Linked DNA regions of Homo sapiens: regions 1 and 3 are each linked to region 2. The links are contacts of gene promoters, found by promoter capture Hi-C in blood cells and fetal thymus (Javierre and others, 2016). All regions are on one chromosome and are shown on one strand. The core of a region is centred on a gene start or on the middle of the fragment in contact, and the rest is flanking DNA. Distances in the headings are between cores, read along the strand shown.

The links. Contacts are between HindIII fragments. The CHiCAGO score rates a contact against its expected background, and 5 or more counts as called.
Region 1: a contact is called between a fragment that was not itself captured here and the fragment with the promoter of HGFAC in region 2, in 1 of 17 cell types (naive CD4 T cells). The highest score is 6.1, in naive CD4 T cells.
Region 3: a contact is called between a fragment that was not itself captured here and the fragment with the promoter of HGFAC in region 2, in 3 of 17 cell types (total CD8 T cells, fetal thymus and naive CD4 T cells). The highest score is 6.6, in total CD8 T cells.

Annotation. Positions count from the first base shown.
Region 1 is chr4:3,165,569-3,168,268 of GRCh38, reverse strand. The region is part of intron 29 of HTT (huntingtin); the gene reads right to left. Among named protein-coding and RNA genes, the nearest start is that of MSANTD1, 82 kb to the left of the region's middle. The HindIII fragment of the contact is 2,345 bases long and covers 212-2,556 here.
Region 2 is chr4:3,440,586-3,443,285 of GRCh38, reverse strand. It overlaps HGFAC (HGF activator), which reads right to left and starts at 1,318. Exons shown (of 14, transcript NM_001528.4): 1 at 1,168-1,318; 2 at 374-554; 3 at 140-236. The coding sequence starts at 1,284. The HindIII fragment of the contact is 2,021 bases long and covers 798-2,700 here.
Region 3 is chr4:3,122,063-3,124,770 of GRCh38, reverse strand. It overlaps HTT (huntingtin), which reads right to left. Exons shown (of 67, transcript NM_001388492.1): 10 at 1,835-1,882. Among named protein-coding and RNA genes, the nearest start is that of HTT, 49 kb to the right of the region's middle. The HindIII fragment of the contact is 4,628 bases long and covers 1-2,708 here.

The sequences.
Region 1 (2,700 bases), core at 135-2,634, 280 kb after region 2:
ATGCCTTCACCTAAGCAAGGTCACAGATAAGGCTCAATAGTTTGTATATCTCAAGCCTGGCCTGACAATCTAAGCATCTGGATATCTTTCCAGCTGCCTCAGAACTGCTGTGTGGCAGAAAGAGATCTGAAACCTTGCCATGCTGTGAGTCAGTGAGGGAGATTCCTCAAAACAGTCAGGGGCCAAGTGCAAACAAGAACCTGTGAAAGCTTCTACCCTACATATCCCCCTCTAAAAGACCACGGATAAAAACTCAACAATTAAGCAGGTGAGGCTTCCAAAGTACAAACAAAAGGATATGCGAGAAAGCTAAAATGGGCCTCTGTCTTGAAACAGCAAAAAAGATGAACTTAGAAAAACAAAAAAGGAGAGGTGAGTAAATCTACCTTTAACTGTAAAGACACAGGCCAGAGAATAAGATGCTTAATTATCCAGTTATTCTTATGCCAAATGTAAAAATTTTCAGAGATGAGCTTATTATCTTTATGTACCTTTAAAAATATATACATACACACACAACCATATGGCTGATTTCAAGAATATAAAGATCAACTAACATCAATCTTCATTAAATTGTGACTTATTAATAATTTACTTTTATTATTTGGATAAGGCAGCATTTGATACATTCACTGACTGTAACTGAAAAACAGCCATTTCTATATATGACAGTCATAATAATAAGGTTAAAAAAAAACCCACATACAAAAAAGAAAATCTTACTATTTAAAGAATCCCAGTTAGATGATTTTTATTTCAGTATAATCTCACGTTCAAATTTAAAACATATAGTATTTTCCATTTTGCTAAAATGTGTTATACATGGAGACTGCTGGCCACTAAAAACTACTTATTAAGCACAGTGGTTTAGGGCAAAGAGAGGGAGATCTGAAAATATGGCTGGGCGTGGTGGCTGACACCTGTGATCCCAGCACTCTAGGAGGCTGAGGTGGGTGGATCACAAGGTCAGGAGTTCGAGACTAGCCTGGCCAATGTGGTGAAACCCCATCTCCACTAAAAATACAAAAAATTAGCCAGGCATGGTGGCAGGTGCCTGTAATCCCAGCTACTCCGGAGGCTGAGGTAGGAGAATCGCTTGAAACCAGGAGGCAAAGGTTGCAGTGGGCCGAGATTGTGCCGATGCACGTCAGCCTGGGCGACAGAGCAAGACTCCACCTCAAAAAACAAGGGATGCTTCCAAAATGGCCGAATAGGAACAGCTCCAGTCTACAGCTCCCAGTGAGATCGACACAGAAGACAGGTGATTTCTGCATTTCCAACTGAGGTACCTAGTTCATCTCACTGGGACTTGCTGGACAGTGGGTGCAGCCCACGGAGGGCAAGCCGAAGCAGGGCGGGGTGTTGCCTCACCTGGGAAGCACAAGGGGTCGGGGGACTTCCCTTTCCAAGCCAAAGGAAGCCATGAGTGACTGTACCTGAAGGAGCAGTACACTCCTGCCCAAATACTGCACTTTTCCCACAGTCTTCACAACCAGCAGACCAGGAGATTCTCTCCTGTGCCTGGCTCAGCGGGTCCCACGCCCATGGGGCCTTGCTCACTGCTAGCGCAGCACTCTGAAATCGACCTGGGATGCAGGAGCTTGGCTGGGGGAGGGGTGTCCACCACTGCTGAGGCTAGAGTAGGTGGTTCTATGCTCACAGTGTAAACAAAGCAGCAGGGAAGCTCGAACTGGGCAGAGCCCACTGCAGCTCAGCAAGGCCTACTGCCTCTCTAGATTCCACCTCTGGGGGAAGGGCACATCTGAACAAAAGGCAGCAGACAGCTTCTCCAGATTTAAACATACGTGCCTGACAGCTCTGAAGAGAGCAGTGGTTCTCCCGGTACGGCATTCAAGCTCCGATAATGAACAGACTGCCTCAAGTGGGTCCCTGACCCCCATGTAGCCTGACTGGGAGACACCTCCCAGTAGGGGCCAACAAACACCTCATACAGGCAGACACCTTCGTGCTCTGGGACGATGTTTCCAGAGGAAGGATCAGGCAGCAATATTTGCTGTTCTGCAGCCTCTGCTGGTGATGCCCAGGCAAACAGGGCCTGGAGTGGACCTCCAGCAAACTCCAACAGACCTGCAGCTGAGGGGCCTGTCTGTTAGAAGGAAAACTAACAAACAGAAAGGAATAGCATCAACATCAACAAAAAGGACACCCACACCAAAACCCCATCCGTAGGTCACCAACATCAAAGACCAAAGGTAGATAAAACCACAATGATGGGGAGAAACCATAGCAGAAAGGCTGAAAATTCCAAAAACCAGAACACCTCTTCTCCTCCAAAGGATCACAACTCCTCACCAGCAAGGGAACAAAACTGGATGGAGAATGAGTTTGATGAATTGACAGAAGTAGGCTTCAGAAGGTCGGTAATAACAAACTTCTCCGAGCTAAAGGAGCATGTTCTAACCCATCACAAGGAAGCTAAAAACCTTGAAAAAAATGTTAGACTAATGGCTAGAATAACCAGTGTAGAGAAGAGCTTAAATGACCTGATGGAGCTAAAAACCACAGAACGAGAATTTTGTGAAGTATACACAAGCTTCGACAGCCGATTCAATCAAGCAGAAGAAAGGATATCAGTGATTGAAGATCAAATTAATGAAATAAAGCGAGAAGACAAGATTAGAGAAAAAAGAGTGAAAAGAAATGAACCAAGCCTCCAAGAAATATGGGACTATGTGAAAA
Region 2 (2,700 bases), core at 69-2,568:
CCCACCACCCTGGAGGGTCTCTGGGTTCACTGGGTCCGCCTGCTGCGTGGTGAGCGCCTACTGTGTGCCCGGCTCCCAGAAAAGCAGGCAGCGTGGGGCAGGTGACCCCAGCTCGGGTGCCCCGGCTGCCCGGACCCACCACTTCCTGTGTGCACTGCCCTCCGAAGTGCAGGCATGCAGCATGCGGCCCCCGTAGCGGAAGGGGAACCTGCAGGGCCTCCCGTCCTCGGTGAGTGCTGTGGGGAGGGGGTGGCAGGGTCAGGGCTCCCTCGAGGGGCACCCGAGCCCCTCAGGACCTCCAGCCGCAGCCATGCTCCTCCCACCCAGCCCTAAGGTGAAGCACGACACCTCCTCCCAGGCCCACCTGACCCACCTTGGGCCTGGGGGCTACTGCTCGAGGGAACTGCCCTGGGCGGGGGCGGGAGCCCCCCACTTTGGGGTCCCTCTGCCTCTGGAGCACTTGTTGCTGGGGTCTCAGAGGTCACAGAGGTCACCAGGATAGTGGGGATCGCAGGGGTCGCTGTGGCATTAGGTTCTGGGGACTCCGTACGGTTCTAGGAGGAGCAGAAAGGGTGTCAGTGTGGGACAGACCCTCACACTCAGGTCCTGCCGGGCAGGAGGTCACAGCCCTGAGCCTGTTTCCATACTGGGGCCCCCAGATCTCGGAGCAGGTTCCAGGAGGACACACGACATTCCTGAGGCCTCAGCCAGGCCCTGACACCTTCCCCGCCCTCGGCCCCTAGTTAACACCTGCTCAGGGTCACTGCCCAGGCCCAGGCACTGCTACCCACCAAGCTTAAACCCTGACGTCAGTTTTTGGTGATGGGAGCAGCTAGGAGGCCCTGGGAGGTTCCCCCAACCTCACGCATCCAGACCCAACAGAGGTCCAGAGAGAGGGGGCAGCCCCCAGACCCATAGGGGCCCAGGCCAGGCCGCACAGGGATGACAGCCCCCAGGTGGGGCTCCGTGAGCCCAGGCCCCAGCCTCCAAGGCCAGTCCAGCACCCACCTGCCCTGTGAGGGCCAGCTTTCAACGTAAGCCCCCTGCTCGGACCCCCGCCCCCTCAAATCCCCACGCTCTGTGGCGACCCTCCCTCTGGCCTCCTCCCAAGGACCCCAAGTAGCCACTGGGAACCTCTGGTCGCACTGCGACAAGGTCAGTGCTCACCCCGCCAGGCTGGGGCTGGAACCCCCGTGGCAGCAGCAGCAGCAGCAGGAGGAGGAGGAGGAAGGGGCCCAGCCCCGGTGGGGGCCAGGGGCTGGGGACCCAGGCCCAGCGCCCCATGGCTCCTGAGCTGGCCTGAGGGGCAGTGGGAGGCGGGAGCAGAGCGGCCAAGGCAGGTGGGGTCAAGGCTTCGTGGAAATGATTAACCCTGGCTGCCTCCCACGTCAGGCGGGCCCAGCCGGAGAGGAAGTCCCCGAGTCCCCTGGCCCCCACACCTGCTGCCCACCTCACTTTGACCCTACCTGGAAGCCCAGCTGTCTCTCTGGCCTCGGCCTGCACTGGTCCTAGTCCTAGACCTGACATGGTCCTTGGGCCTCAGCTTAGAAGCCTCCTCCAGGAAGTCTTCCAGGATAATGCAGATAGGTTGGGGCCTAGATGGTCTGGCGCCGCTCCCAGTCCCTGCAGGCCACAGAGCTGGCCACCATCTGCCTGTGAATTGTCCATGATGAGAGCCACTACGGGCGCTGGGCCTTGGAGGTGTCCAGCTCTGTGCCCAGCACAGCACAGACAGTAGCAGTGGGGATGGGATTGTCCCTGTCCCACAGACGGCAGCACTGGGGGCTCCTGGAGGGTTCGGTGCTGCATCCTCTCGGTGGCCCCAGGGCTGGCCAAAAGGCCAGGCACAGGGAGGAGAGGGGCCACGCAATGGCTGAGTGTAGCATAGGATGACCTGAGATCCTGCCCCACCTGCCTGTTCTGACTCTGGGGGTGGCCAGGGCCCCCCAGCAGCCCCTGGTGATGTTCAGAGTGTCCCTTCCTCCCCGTCTCCCAGACAGACCCAGGAGTCCACTCCAAGAAGCCTTTCCAACCCCAGCTCCCCACCGCCGCCTGGATGGTACAGGCCAAGTCTGCGGCAGCACAACCCTGGGCCAGGTACCCTGGGGCCTGGGATGGAGCTGGAGTCACGGAATTCGTGACTTGGGGCTGTGGGCAGAGCTGCCTGAGGAACCTCTTCTGCAATATTGGAGCAGCCGCTACGGCACCTCGGGTTCCTCCTGAGTCAGCAGCGACATCCCAGGGCTGCCGAGGTGGGAGGAGGGGTGAGTGAACCACTGTGGCCTGGAGACCAGCGAGGGCTGAAGCTGCCTCCCTGTATCCCCTAAAACCCCTCTCTCTGCCCCCCATTTGCCTGTCTGTGCAGAGGGAGAGAGAATGGACACCCACTGACCACCCAGCTTGACACCGTGGGCCCCAGGGGGCACAGTGCACATGGAGGCGTGGTGGGCCCTGGGGGCACGGTGAATGGGGGGTTGGGGGTTGGGGGGGAGGTCATGGTGGGCCCTGGGGCACGGTGAATGGGGGGTTGGGGGTTGGGGGGGAGGTCATGGTGGGCCCTGGGGGCACGGTGAATGTGGAGGCATGGTGGGTGCTGGGGGCACGGTGAATGGGGGGTTGGGGGTTGGGGGGGAGGTCATGGTGGGCCCTGGGGGCACGGTGAATGTGGAGGCATGGTGGGTGCTGGGAGCAGGATGGATG
Region 3 (2,708 bases), core at 37-2,536, 320 kb after region 2:
AATGAGCAAAGGAAACCCAAAATCTACATGGAATTAACACAGCAACTTGGCCTATCTACTAAATAATAGGAAACTTTATTACAAAATAAGTTCTTTACCTTGAGAAATCAAATAAAATGCCAAAAAGGTGAATTCAGATCTTAACAAAAGCCATCTCTATCTTCCAAATCAGTGGTTTGCAAATATGTTCCACAGAGCCGTCCCCAGGGTAATTTCCTCAAAGGCACAAGAGCTAGGCTGCCACCAGAAGAGAGGCTCCAGGACACCCCCACTACTTTCACCCTAATCCTATATCCAACACAACTCTACCTTCATCTGTCTTATAATTTGGGCAGATTTCACTTAAAAAGGATTTTCCAGCTATAACAGAAGAGTTTGAAGACACAGCTCTCAATGGGGGAAAAATACCAAAAAGGCTTAAAAGAGACAGGATATATCCCATGTCCCAGCCAGAAGAGGATAAACTCATCTGAGCAATGTGAATCAGTCATCTTCGTTCTCACCGCCACTGGAAAAAGCGACTAAGAAACAAACAAGTGTCAGCGTAACTTAGTCACACGTCCCAAAATCTCTCCTAATTCAAGAATATAGACATTAATTTTTCCTAGAATCCTTTTGGCTTCTAAACAATGTTTCACTAAAATCTCAAACTTGATTAAGTATCTCATACTATGATGACGCAAATATTATAGATTCCAAGTTCTCTTAAGAAATGTTTACTTAATTCAATGAAGGCTAGAATGCTATTCCTGTTAAGATCCCATTTAATACTGCAAATAATATTAGGCATTAGGCTCTCAATTAAATACTCAAATCATGACACAAAAAAGGATCAGTCTTTTAAGATTTCAAAATAGAAAGTGACAGCAATTCTTTTCCTATGCAAACCCACACTGGAAAAGAAAATAACTGGCATTGCAAAAGATAATGTGTACCAAAACTAGCAGATTATATCACAAACACTTTAATAAAAGTTAAGTTTTATCAGAACATTCTGATATGTACAAAGTTAAATATGGCTGAAAAATGATAACCAGGTCCAAATTAAAATAACCCAACAAAGGAAACTTTTTTTTTTTAAGACACAAGGTCTCATTCTGTTGCCTAGGCTGGAGTGCAGTGGCATGACTACAGCTCACTGTGACCTCAAACTCCTGGGCTCAAACAATCCTCTTGCCTCAGCCCCCTGAGCAGCAGCTGAGGCTACAGGCACATGCCACATGCGTGGCTGTTTTTTTGTTTTGTTTTGTTTTGGTAGAGACCGGGTCTCACTATGTTGACCAGGCTGGAAAAGAAGCTACTTAATAATATTCCTGACTAATACTAAATAAAATTTACTGAGAAGGTAACTCACAAAATATAACAACACATTCCCTAAGGCAGGTATTGGCAAACTACAGCCTGTCTGTTTCTGTAAGTAAAGTTCTACTGGAACATAGCTGGCCAGTAGCTCATGTCTTTACAACTGCATTCCTGTCACAGGGCAGAGCTGAATGTTGCAAAAGAGACCATATGGCCCATAAAGCTAAGATGTTTACACTCTGTCCCTTTACAAAAAAAGTCTGCTGACCCCGAACATTAGAAATTTATGATGCGTTCAAAATTTATGACAAAGCAATTCTGATATGAAAGTAATTTTTAAAAGCCACCCTACAAAACTATTCAGGCCTGGTTATCAGATTCCAGCAACATTCACACATATAATCACTCATCTGAGAAGAGATATACACAGAGTCCAATACAGTATTACAAGAAATACAAGATACATTACATTACAGAAATACAAGAAAATCAGTAAGATTCAACACAAGACTCTGATTTCTGAAATAATCACCTTTTTGTTTTCTTGAAAGGACAGGGCTGCATGAGGAACCCCCTCCAGCTGCAAATCACAGAAAGTGACAGATAAAGTAACAAGCTGATAAAATCTAGAAGAAATGTGAAAATCTTCAAACAGCTTGATTCAACTTTAAAACTAGAGAAAATGTGAACGTTTTTCCACAGGAAACACTTAACATCGCAGTTCAACATTTTAATTTCAATATGAAAATTACATTAACATTCAAATATATAGTTCTAAAGATATGACCTAAGAAATCAAAAAAGCTAAGATAAATTGCATTGTAAAAGCCAAATTAAAAGTATTAGAAATCTCAGATTATTTAGCTGACTAACAGTCAAGTATAACTTTTCATTAGCGATGGGTATTTCCACTCATTATTTGTAAGGCACGCATTCCATACAGAAAAAAATTCTTCCGTGTAAAGGACAGGAAACAAGGCAGATTAACATTTCCTGCTCATGGTTCTGGCAAACATTTATGTTCACACGAGGCAGCAGTAAGACTTCAGTCAGATTCTCTCTAATGTGGAGGCTGTGAGTAAGGCCACGCTGCACACACACTGTGCACTACACCGACCACGTTGCAGTGGCTTAGGAGAGGCCGGAGTCAGCAGAAGTTTATCCATAGCCTGCTAGGCACCAGACCCAGTGGTAGAGGCTGGGATCCAGCTCCCAAAGGCAGCTCTCATGCCAGACAGGACCCACCAAGCTCACTGCTCCAGGGCAGCACTGCATGGTGGGGTAGGGCCCAGCCCCAAGAGCATGGAGAGGAGGTGACTGGGCAGTGGAGGCAGACGCAGAGCTGGGGACAGACGGATTTTCTCAAGTCAGGCCAGGAAGGAACTCTCAGATCCCTCTGACGACTT